Regions from separate parts of the Homo sapiens genome. Here region 2 is linked to region 1. The links are contacts of gene promoters, found by promoter capture Hi-C in blood cells and fetal thymus (Javierre and others, 2016). All regions are on one chromosome and are shown on one strand. Each heading gives the region's core, a stretch centred on a gene start or on the middle of the fragment in contact. The rest is flanking DNA. Distances are from core to core; before and after follow the strand shown.

What was found. Contacts are between HindIII fragments. The CHiCAGO score rates a contact against its expected background, and 5 or more counts as called.
Region 2: a fragment that was not itself captured here is called in contact with the fragment with the promoter of PITPNB in region 1 in 5 of 17 cell types (total CD4 T cells, naive CD4 T cells, total CD8 T cells and 2 more); the score reaches 11.2 in total CD4 T cells.

The regions. Positions count from the first base shown.
Region 1 is chr22:27,915,016-27,920,505 of GRCh38, forward strand. It overlaps PITPNB (phosphatidylinositol transfer protein beta), which reads right to left and starts at 4,241. Exons shown (of 12, transcript NM_012399.5): 1 at 4,157-4,241. The coding sequence starts at 4,176. TTC28-AS1 (TTC28 antisense RNA 1) reads left to right here and starts at 4,361. Exons shown (of 5, transcript NR_026963.1): 1 at 4,361-4,530. RefSeq lists enhancers at 3,441-4,426, 4,427-5,411, 4,582-4,761 and silencers at 3,692-4,011, 4,202-4,271. The HindIII fragment of the contact is 2,643 bases long and covers 3,040-5,490 here.
Region 2 is chr22:26,666,320-26,671,809 of GRCh38, forward strand. It overlaps MIAT (myocardial infarction associated transcript), which reads left to right. Exons shown (of 5, transcript NR_033320.3): 3 at 1-618; 4 at 866-991; 5 at 1,839-5,490. Among named protein-coding and RNA genes, the nearest start is that of MIATNB, 3.8 kb to the right of the region's middle. RefSeq lists enhancers at 1,674-2,257, 2,258-2,840. The HindIII fragment of the contact is 9,187 bases long and covers 1-5,490 here.

The sequences.
Region 1 (5,490 bases), core at 2,991-5,490:
TGCAAGCAGTCTTAAAAGATAAAATCCAAAACAGTATCATGGTATATTGTTTTATCAAAATATTGCATCTTATCTCTAGATTTTATAAGGAGAGTCCTTAATTTATTTCCACCATAAATCCTGAAAACCAAGAACATCCCTGTATATCAATGGTCTCATAATTATAGTTGGTTCCAAGACAGCAACTTCCTTTTTTGTGGGATGGGGGTATACGATCCTTCTCATACTTTCCTAATCTTATCTGTCATTTTATGGAAAATTTTCAATAGTTTTCCTCATTCCAATTTCTTTTCAGCTTATAATTTCTTTTTCTTTTTTTCTTGCAGTAAGAGTCATTTAGCTTATTGTTTGTATTAGTGACAATCTTTTTGGCCTAGGCATTCTTTTTTAATAGTCTTTCTTATTCGTAAGTATGAAGAGAGTAATAAAACCCAGATTATATCTAGTTTGCATTCCAGCTACACTTTCCATCTACTCCTTTCTCCCTACTCTCCTCAAACATCTATGTCTGAATGTTCACATTACCTCAATCTCCAACATGCACAAGTCTGTTACTCCCTCCCCTTTGACTACTGAGTTACTCGCCACTCTTTGTCTTTCTGGTAACGGTGATTCAAAAACAATGAACACTCTCAAATCCACAATGGTCACTAATTTCTACTCTCCATCAAGAATAAACTTTTTGTAAGTCCTTCTATACCTAAAAATTCCGAATCATTTCTCTTCTCAGTATACACTAACTTGCTCACTGTCCCAGAGCATAAAATGAGGGAGAGGAAGACTAGAAAGCTATAGGTTGGGAGCAGATTATCAGGACCTGGAATACTATGGTAAGAAATCCATTAAATTCATCAGGCAATAAGGAATCCCAAAAGGTTGGTCCAAGAGGTAAGTGACAACTACTGCTGACCTGAAGAAGTCATCTGCAGGTGGTTGAAAACACTGACAAGCAGGAGAAGTGGGGAAAGCTATCTTTTGGGAGGCTAGGCAAGAACTGTCACAAAGGCCTGAACCAAGATGATGGACTGCAGAGGGAATGGAAGGAAGGGATAGAGAAAGAAGAGTTAGTCTTCCCTTAAGTTTCACAAAACCAAAGAATCACTGCTGAGTAATTTTACACTCACTAACAGGAAGATCCCTATTTTTATTTAAGAACACTTTCAAGGAAATTCTTTCAAAAAATTAAAGTGACTGATTAAGACATTCAGAACAATGAGTCAAGTAACTTCTTCAAGATTTGCTTAACAAGTAAAAGGGAAAAGGAACATACAGGCTTTGATTTTCTGTTGTTATTCTAAAAGCAGTATTCAACTTTCAGTGCCAGTTGAAAATGTTCAAATGTCTGAAAATCCTCATAAAAATAATTTCCAAATGGAATCAGTAACTAGTTCTTTAAAACCAGGACTTTACATTAATGGTAACTTCATCTACTGCTTAAATAATAACTTGAAGGGAAACAGCCCACCTCGAAAGTCATTTCTAACATTTTAATTCTTATAAAAAAATAAATAGAGGGCCAGGTGCGGTGACTCACACCTGTAATCCCAGCACTTAGTGGGCGGATCACCTGAGGTCATGAGTTCCAGACCAGCCTGGCCAGCAGGGTGAAACCCTGTCTCTACTAAAAATACAAAAAATTTAGCCGGTCATGGTGGCGTGCGCCTGTAGTCCCAGCTACTTGGGAGGCTGAGGCAGGAAAATCGCTTGAACCTGGGAGGCGGAGGTTGCAGTGAGCAGAGATCATGCCACTGCACTCCAGCCTGGGCAACAGAGACTCCGCCTCAAAAAAAAAACATAAAAATAAAAAAGAATTTTATAAGACAACAAACATTTGCCAAAGTATTTTAGTTACCAATATCTTCACATAGGAATAAGCTATTCATTGCTCCTAACCAACAAGAATTTTAGAAAGTTGACTTGAGAGTAAGAAGTATCAATTTTTCATTGAACAACACTGAATTCTTTAGAGCATGTTAGGCCTAGATGCTGTGCTAGATACCGACATTACTTAAGAAACAGCTTCTACCTTCAAAAAGTCTAGGAGGAAAAAAAATCTAGGGGAGATACACATGAAGAGTTAACATCAAGAAACTTAATTTATAACTCTTTGGGAAAAATAATTAGACTTTGGGCACGTGTCAACATTCATTATCTGGGTACATTTAAATCTTCATAATGAAAGCAAATGTTTGCAAAAAGCACAGTGCGCAAATTCCCAATAGGAACTGCTTTCCAAGAGTTAGCTTCATACTACTCACATACTGTCAAAGGGATCTACTGAATACTGTGTGTCTGTAACACTTTTGGAGGGAGGAAATACTCCAATGAAAGAAAAATGACTGGATCTATTTAAAATCAGTTCTGCAACTCACTTGCTGTGTAACTTGGTCCAAGTCAATTTCCTTCTTATTTTCTCCATTTGTTTTAGTGTCTGCCACCCATCTACCCACATCATCTAGAAGTCAGAGTAATGAACACTTGTTTGATACACTGTATAAACGACTTGGAAGAAAAGTTTTATATAAACCCAATATTCAGTACTATAAATAAGCTTTAATTGAGAATTTTCACTCTACCAAAAAAAGGCAAAATGTCTCTTCTCAAAATCCCTGTCACTGACCAAAGTTATCATTTTTCATCAATTCATTAACAAATATTTACTGAGCACCTATTACATGCGAGGGACTATTCTAAAAACTGGGGATATGAGAGTGAGCAAAACAAACTCATGGCCCTTACATGTAAAAAGAGAACACAACTAGTAGGAGAAAAATAATAATAATAAATTGTATTGGCATGTTGGATGGTGATAAGTACTATGGAGACCGATAAAGCAGGGAAGACAAATACCACCCCAAATAGTGGGAACTACAATTAGGTCTTCAGAAAGGGATTCCCTGAGAAGGTGACGTCTGAGCAAAGACCTGGAAGAAGGTGAGTTAGTGTGCCAAGGGAAGAACACTTCAAGCAAAGGGAACAAAAGCAGGTGGAAAGGTCTTGAACTGAACTTATTCTAGAGTAGCAGAGGAACAGCAAGGAAGCTTGCGAAGATGGAATGGGCAAGGAAAAGGTAGTAAATGAGATCAGGGCAGGAAAAAAAAGTGTAAAGCCTTGTAGCTGTTGCAGAGGCTTTGACTTTTATTCTGGGTGAGACAGGGAGTCTTTGGGAGGTATTAAGTCTCAGAGAAGTGCATCAGTGACTTTTTAAAGGAGGTTTAAGAACACTAAAAATAAGGTGTCTGAAAAAAGCTAAATTAAGCCAAAAATATTTCTAAGAATTTAAAATGAAGAATTTGAAAACCAACGAATGGGCCATACTCGACCTCCCTAGCTGCCCAAAGGATGCTGACGACACGAACCAGCTGTGACAGACGAACATTCAGAGGCAAGCAGATTTCCGTAATGTTTACAGTCCTTGCCAGTAGGAAAAGCCGTGACTTTTCAACAAAATCACTTGGCCAGTCGGATGCACCTCGAAATCCCTCCATTTGACAGAGCACGTGTTAACTTCTAAGAAAGTAGGTGGGGCCCGGGATGTCACCTCATCTTAAAACATGCGGAAACCAAAAAGAGAAAAGGCTCTCCCGTCAAGTCAGCGGAGCTGCCCAGGAGAGCGGAGGCTTTCCGGAATCCCGGCTCCACCACGAACTTCAAGGCGCCAGCGTCCCACCGCGAGTCCTGACACGAGGGCTGCCTTCAACCGGCAAGCCCATCTCCCGCTGGTTACCAGGGGACTCCACCCCGGACGACAAATCACAGTCAGAACCAACGTGTCTCTCCCACCCTCGGACTGCGGCTCCTTCCCACCGGCGGGCCTGGGGGTGGGCCCAGACCCAGCCTGGGGGTGGGGGGTTGGGGAGAAGGCGGGTCCCAGCGGAAACTCCCGGCCGCGCCTTCCCGAGCCATGCGCTCGGGCCGGGACCCAGCCGCCTTCGCCCCGGGGAAGGGAGAGGGCGTGTTACCACGGCAATGCCTGGAGGGCCGAGGGGCGCACTCGCTGAGGGGCTTCGAAGGGGCCGGGGGAGGGAGGGGGCGCCCGCAGGGAGGGGCTGACACAGGGCTGACTCCGATTTAGGAATATCCTACCACTTCTCCATCAACAAATCTCCCATCACTGCCGTCCCACGGCCTCGCTCGCGCCCACAGACCCACTCACAATTCCTTGATCAGCACCATCTTCCCGGAACCCCCTCACAGCTGCCGCCGATACCACCGCCGCCGCCGCCGCTACCGCCTCTCACAGCGCCTGCGCGGCCCCGCCTCCCTGCCCCCCCGAGCCACCATCGCGCCTGCGTGCTTACACCCTTCCGCCGCGACCAGTCGCGTCAGCGCGCGAGGGGGCCTAGCTCCGCCCAGTTTCGTGCCCCACCCCGGGCACACGAGGCCTCCACTGCGGTTGCGCAGCCTGCCGAAGAGCGTGCGGCTTCTACTGCGGCTGCGCAAGCTCGACGCGCGCACTCTTGTCTGCTTACGAGGGCTCCTCCCTTCAGCTTTGGTCCCTCGGGGCGTCTGGGCAGCCTACGCTTTCCGGTGAGTTTTCCAGTTGGTTCTTTGGAAGCCGTTTTGCGGTGACTGGTTTTCTGCTCTCTCTCACTGCTCCGAGTCAGGGCCCACCTCCTTGACCGACACCTCACCTCCATAGTCCACATAAAAGACTCCTGACAGGTTCTGGAGGCAGCCGACGCCAGCTTCTGTTCCCCTCCCCAGCCCTTGGCAGCTCAGGTTCCGCGGGAGGACGTTCACCTGCTTCGCGGTCTCGTGGAGGTCCACCGCGGCGGAGAATCCTAAACCTCACCTGTGACTCGGCAGGATGAGCGGCCAGCACTCCCGACGGAGGCCCTCTGGGAGAAAAGAGGCCCTTGGCCTCGAGACCCAGGAAAGCGGGCTGTTCAGGAGTTGGTTCGCGCAGTTACACCGAAAGCGCCGTGGGCCTCAAAGCCGCAGCCCGGAGGTCGCTGGCTTGCTCTGTGTCAGACACGGTTCTAGGCAGTGGGGATGCATCTAGAAGCAGACACAGTCCCTGTTCTCAAGAAGCTCACAGTCTAGAGGAGACAACTCACTTGGAAAGAAAGCAGGGAGAATTTGGGGTGGTGGGGAAGTGCTATGCTATGAATACAGTGGAGTACTGGGAGAAGCAGAGGACTCAAGACAAGGGCTGTCTTAGGAGGCGGTGTTTGAGCCTAGCCTGTTAGGATGTGAGAGGGGCATTCCAGTTGGAGGGAAATATGACCCGAGGATGGAGTAAGCCTAGGGTGTTCAAGGATCAGCTAGAGGGCAGATGTGGCCAGAACATCCTAAGTGAGGGTGGGAAATGAGCTGGGACCAACTGGATTACTAGGCCATAGTAAAGAATTTGTCTTCTAAGAACCATGAGAACCTGTTGAAAGGCTATTAAGACGATTAAAATATCACGAAAACATTTTTGTATAAACATCTGGTGTATCTGATAGTGGAATACATCTGTGGAGTTAGGGCTGCCTCCAAAAAAAT
Region 2 (5,490 bases), core at 1,957-4,456, 1.2 Mb before region 1:
CTCTGGCTCCCCGAATTTCCTCTGGTGCATGGGGCATCAGGAAAGGGCAGGGGAGAAGGAGGGGGAGCAGAAAAATAACTGAGGCTGGGCAGAAGGGTCCCTTCCATTTCCCATCCATTGCTTCAAACAATGGGTGATTACCGTGCACCTTGAGTGAATGTCAAGGCAGGAAGGGTTCCAGGGCCACCCAGTGTGGCAGGAGCAGAGCTGGGATCAGAATTCTGGATTCCTGACTCTCCGTTCAGCTGCTATTCAGCTATCACCAAGCTGCTGAGTTTGTCCTACTTTCTCCTGGGTCACATTCTGCTGTTGTTGGGAAACAGGGAGTGAGTGAAGGGAACCTGGGAACCCTTCTCCCCTCACCTTTTAAGGATGTTCTGGGGTGGAATAAAGAGAGGTGGAGGGTGGGGTGCCTGGGCCCAGCCTCCCTGGCTCCTGGTCCTTCTTTCTTCAGCAGGGAGTTCTGGCAAGGCCTGGGCCTGGGGAGGGGGCCTGGGTGCAGTTTTCTCCTGCGGTGTGGTTGGCTCTTTTGTCTTCCAGGATGGGCCTGTGGGGTCTGTGTGGGGAAGGAAGGAGCTGGGAGCCTGGGCTGCCTGTGTGTCGGCTGGATGCTGCCAGGTAAGCCTGAGAGGGATGTGGGGAGGGAGGGAGGGAGGTCACATGGAGCTTGGTTTCATGGGGGTAGGTTGTCCTCCCACCTGTGCCCCCTCCTCAGGCCCAGAACGCTCCTGCTCATGAGAAGATGGCCAGGGAGCCAGGTGGCTGGAATGCTTGCTCTGTGTGGTCTTGGTGGGGGTGGGTGGGATGGAATCAAGACCATTGTGGGTGAGCTCGAGCAGAGAATTTAGCAAGTCCCTTCATTCAGCACCGGCATGGACCAAGCAACTTCTCTGAGCCAGATGCTGGGGACGCAGAGGTGAACCCAGAGACATGATCCCATCTGCTCAGATCTTCATGTCAGAACACGCTTTATTACAGTCTCGGCAAGGGGGTGAGCTCCTCGTCCTGGGAGCAGTGTGTGTGTGTGTGTGTGTGCGTGTGCACATGTGTGTGCATGCCTGTGTGTGTGTGCATGCGTGCATGTGTGTGCGCGTGTATGTGTGTGTATGCGCGCGTGTGTGTGTATGTTGGGGGTGGTGGTGTGCAGAGATCCTCCCAGTGGGAATGTTGTAAAATGAATTGAAGCCATCAAAGGCCTCTGAAAGTCCTTCCCATCCCCTCAAACCCTTGCCCTGTCTCTGCCCATGATGCTCCTGGAGCTTGCTATGGGCTCCCTTTACTGCTTTTCCTCTGGTCCCCTGAGCTAACCCTGCCTGGTGGGTATTCTCAGCTTTCATTGCTTCCTCTTTTTAGACAACTTTTTTTTCCTTTTTCTCAGAGACAGGGTCTCACTCTGTTGCCCAGGCTAGAGTACAGTGTTATGATCACGGCTCACTGCAGCCTTGAACTCCAGGGCTCAATACATCCTCCCACCTCAGCCTCCTGGGTAGCTGGGACTACAGGTGCATGCTACCATGCCTGGCTTATTTTTTGTAGAGACAGAGTCTCATTATGTTGCCCAGGCTGGTCTCGAACTCCTGGGCTCAAGTGATCCTCCTTCCTCAGCCTCCCAAAGTGCTGGGATTACAGGTGGGAGTCACTGTGCCTGGCCTAAGTTTCTTCTAAAAATGTTTCATGTCCAAAACCCTCACTTCCACCCTGTGTGTGTGCTGGGGGCATGAGAGACTGGGGGGATCTCTGAACATGAGTCCCCTCAGATGCAGAATTAGGCTGGGGGGATGTGGGAAGTTGGGGATGGAGGCTGTGGCCTCATCCTCACTCGCTGTCTTCTCCCCCAGGTGGCTCCATCTGGGCCGCATCTCCAGGACTCCTGGCCTGGACTTCTCTTTGGACCTCGGGTGACCTTGGATTCTGGCCACAGTGACTTAGCGGTCAGACTCCGGTGGTTTTCTAGCCCGCTGGGTGACTCCCTGAAGATCTCATCCTCTTCACACCTGTTGGGATGGAGCCTCCCATGGATAGGAACTCTTCCTGGTTGATGCTCAGCAGATGACTGATCTGGCTCTGGAGGACAGCTCCAGGGGTATGAGGGAGGCCTGGCAGCCCACTACTCCCTCCTCACCTGCTCGGGCCCTGCCTGCTGGGCCCTATTGTCTGGGTCTGGGGGCCCTTTCCTGCCCCATGTGAACTTGATTCCTCCTCGCGTTTCTGCCGGTGACCAGACAGAGCCTGGCCTGGGCCAAGTCCCCACTGACCACACTTTCCCCAAGGCTGGGTCTCAAAGGACCCTACAGGATGGGGACAGGAACAAGGATGGGAGTCGGGGAGGGGCTGTCAGGCAGAGGGCAGATGCAGCTCCTCGGGTGCCGCTGGCTGGAGTCCTTTGTCTCCATTTGCTCAGTGCGTAATTGTCATTTTGTGGGGGACTTCCTTGGTGGGGCTTTTCCATGCTTTTCCTCTCCCTGATGGTTACAAAGAGGAGACAGTCAGGATCTGGGAGGAGCTGGAGCCTTCCCCCTGTGCTGTTGAACTCTGGGAGGGGCAGCCAGAGGGGCTGAGAGTGCACCATCCTGAAAAGAGAGGGTCTTTAAGAGATAAGATTTAGGCTAGGGAAATTCACTAGAAAGAGACAGGTGGCCCTGGGTTTTTTTTCCTGCCATCCAAAGGGAACCAGTCTTACCCAAAGGCTTAAGGGGTCACCTTAGCCCAGTCTCAGGACACTCTTCTCCAATCAGATCGCTGCTTCTAGTTGCACTGCTCCTGGATTCTGTTCTTGGGGAACAGAAGGTGGCAGGACAGGCCCCACAATCTGCAATTCCAGCTCCCTCCAGAGGAGACAGTCCCAGCGTTTGCAAGAGAGCAGCTTGTGGCCTCCCTTAGGCAAGTTTAAAAGCCAGATGTCCTTTTTCCCAGAATGCGGAGTGGTGTGTACTATTCATCAGCTTGGGCTGCCACAGCACCATGCCAGACTGGATGGCTTAAACATCAGGAATTTATTTTCTGCCAGTTCTGGAGGCTGGAAAGTCCAGATCAAGGTGTTAAGACTTGGTTTCTGGTGAGGCCTCTCTCCTTGGCTTGCAGGTGGCACCTTCTCACTATGTCCTCACATGGCCTTTTCTCTGTGGAGAGGGACAGAGAGCATGAGCAGGCTCTGGTGTCTCCTCCTCTTCTTATAAAGACACTAATATCACCATATTAGGGCTTAAACCTATGACCTCATTTAACCTTAACCCCTTAAAGGTCCCATCTCCAAAAACAGTCACATAGCAGGCTACTGCTTCAACATATGCATTTGGGGGAGGGGACACCATTCAGTTCTTAACAGGGTGGTCACCGCAAACATGGAAAGTCAGAGCCTTCTCCCCTTCAGAATTCCCGCCCCCACCCAGGGATGGGGAGGAGGAGCAGAGAGGTATGGGAAGCAGACACGGAGAGTGGCAGGTACCATGCTGGGGTGGCTCAGGAGTGCTTCGGAGGACATATGGAACTGGCAGGGCTCAGTGCAGGGAGGCGGAGGCCCTGGGAGAGCCGTGTCCTGAGAAGGGCCTGGGCTACAACCCTGGGCAAGTTACTTCACCTCTGAGCCTCCGATGCTCTGTGAAATGGAAGGAATGTGCTTGCCTGTCAGGTGCAGGGAGAATTCAGTGAGATTGTGTGCCTAGCACAGTGCCTGACTCCCAGTAGGTGCTCAGCAAATGCTCCCATCCATCTGGGAGTATAGACTTAGGGTTTATCTATTTTTTTTTTTTTTTGGCTCTCTGGACTTTAAAACTCAGCATCTTCTGAACCAGAGGCATTTCTGATTAGCCCTTCCCTACCTATTTTCCTAGTATCACTCTTTAATCAGCTTGGGGAGGTGGCAGCATTTCATGGCCTCCGTAGTAACTCACAATGCTTCCTGGGGTATTTAAATTCTACTCTCTCATCAGCACTGAGCACCTACTTTGGGCCCTTTCCCGTGCTAGCCATTTGGGGGAAATATAGGTGAAGAGTGGCTGGGGTTTGAACCTTTAGGATTTCACAGCCATGCTGGATGGGATAAAACCAGCTCACATGGAGAATCAGAGAATGGGACAGTGCCACAAAACAGTCTACTGAGGCACAAGTTCTGAGTGCCTGGGAAGTGGTAGAGAGACCCCAGAGAGGGCTGCTGCAGTCTGGAACAGCTTCCTAGCAAGCTGTACCAAACAGGGCCTTGAAGGATGAGAAAGATCTGGCTGAGATGATACCCGACCCTCTAGGGAAATTCTTAAAGTAACTTCTAGGAAATGTCATTGCTCCTTAAAAAAAAAAAAAAAAAAAAAAAAGCAGGTTCTAATTCAAATTCCGCTGCACTACTGAAGTAGTGCAGGACTTATCAGAACCTTTAAAATGCTAATGGCAATTTCAAATACTCAGGGACAGGGCATAGGATGAAGTGTTCCTTGACTTTTATGGCCGTAGAATCTTTTTCTCATGGAACATCGTTTAGAACTGTGGGAGATGCTAGGCTGGGGTTTCTATGGGAAAAGTACAGCAGTGATAGAAGATGGCATAATTAGGGTACACTTAGGTGCTTTGTAGCATTGGCTGAAAAGGAAGCAGACCGGGTGGGCGTGGGGGAGTCTCAACTTGGTTCCAGGAGCCAGGCCAGCTTGATGCGTTTTTTTTTTTTCTAATGGTGGGAGGGCAGGCCAATAGTTGGAGAAACTAGAGGCCTGACAGTCGGTGATGGAAGAGATGTCTACTAAGCACGGTTGTCAGATCTTTTGCGGAGAGATGCGGGTGTGCGTGTGTCTGTCAGAGTGTAACAGGATCCAGCCCTCTGGGAAGGGGCTGACCAGAACCAGGCAGGGGGTTTCTGTCTAGGACAAGTAGGGTCCATTTTCAGGGGAGCTGAAATATTTGCAGGGGGTGCTCTGAGACCCACAGCCAATAAATAGGGAAGCAACATGCTTTTGGGCAGGGTCCATGTGGTTAGGGTTGATTTTGATGGGGCTGGGGGGCTTAGAGTTAGACCCCCTGCCCTGGTCAGGCCCCACTCCCTGGCTGGTGGGGGCGGGAGGCCTCTGAAGCTGCAGCTGGAGGGGCCGGGGCAGTGTTGCATGGTGTGATTAACCTACTAACCCAGGGCTCAGCCGGGACGCTGTGGCGTGTGACGAGGTGCCTGGCCTTCTGCCAACCAACTAACCCACTAACCAGGCCCGAGCATGCCCTACTAACCACCCCCCCGCAGCCAGATCCTACTAACTGTGCAGCTCATGGGCCTTTCAAGGGGCTGGGATATGGGGGCAGCCAAGGCTCCAGAAGGCTCTGCCTATGGGCTGGGATCTTTGTGCAGACCCACGTTCCAGGACAGAGAATGCAAATAAGACTCACCAACTCTGCCACTTCCTGTTGAGTGAGTTTGAGTAAGTCACCTCACTTCTCTCAACCTCAGTTTCCTCAGTGGTAGAATGCGAGTTCTGATACCTTACAGGTTGCAGTGAGGATTCCCGTCAATATAAGGGT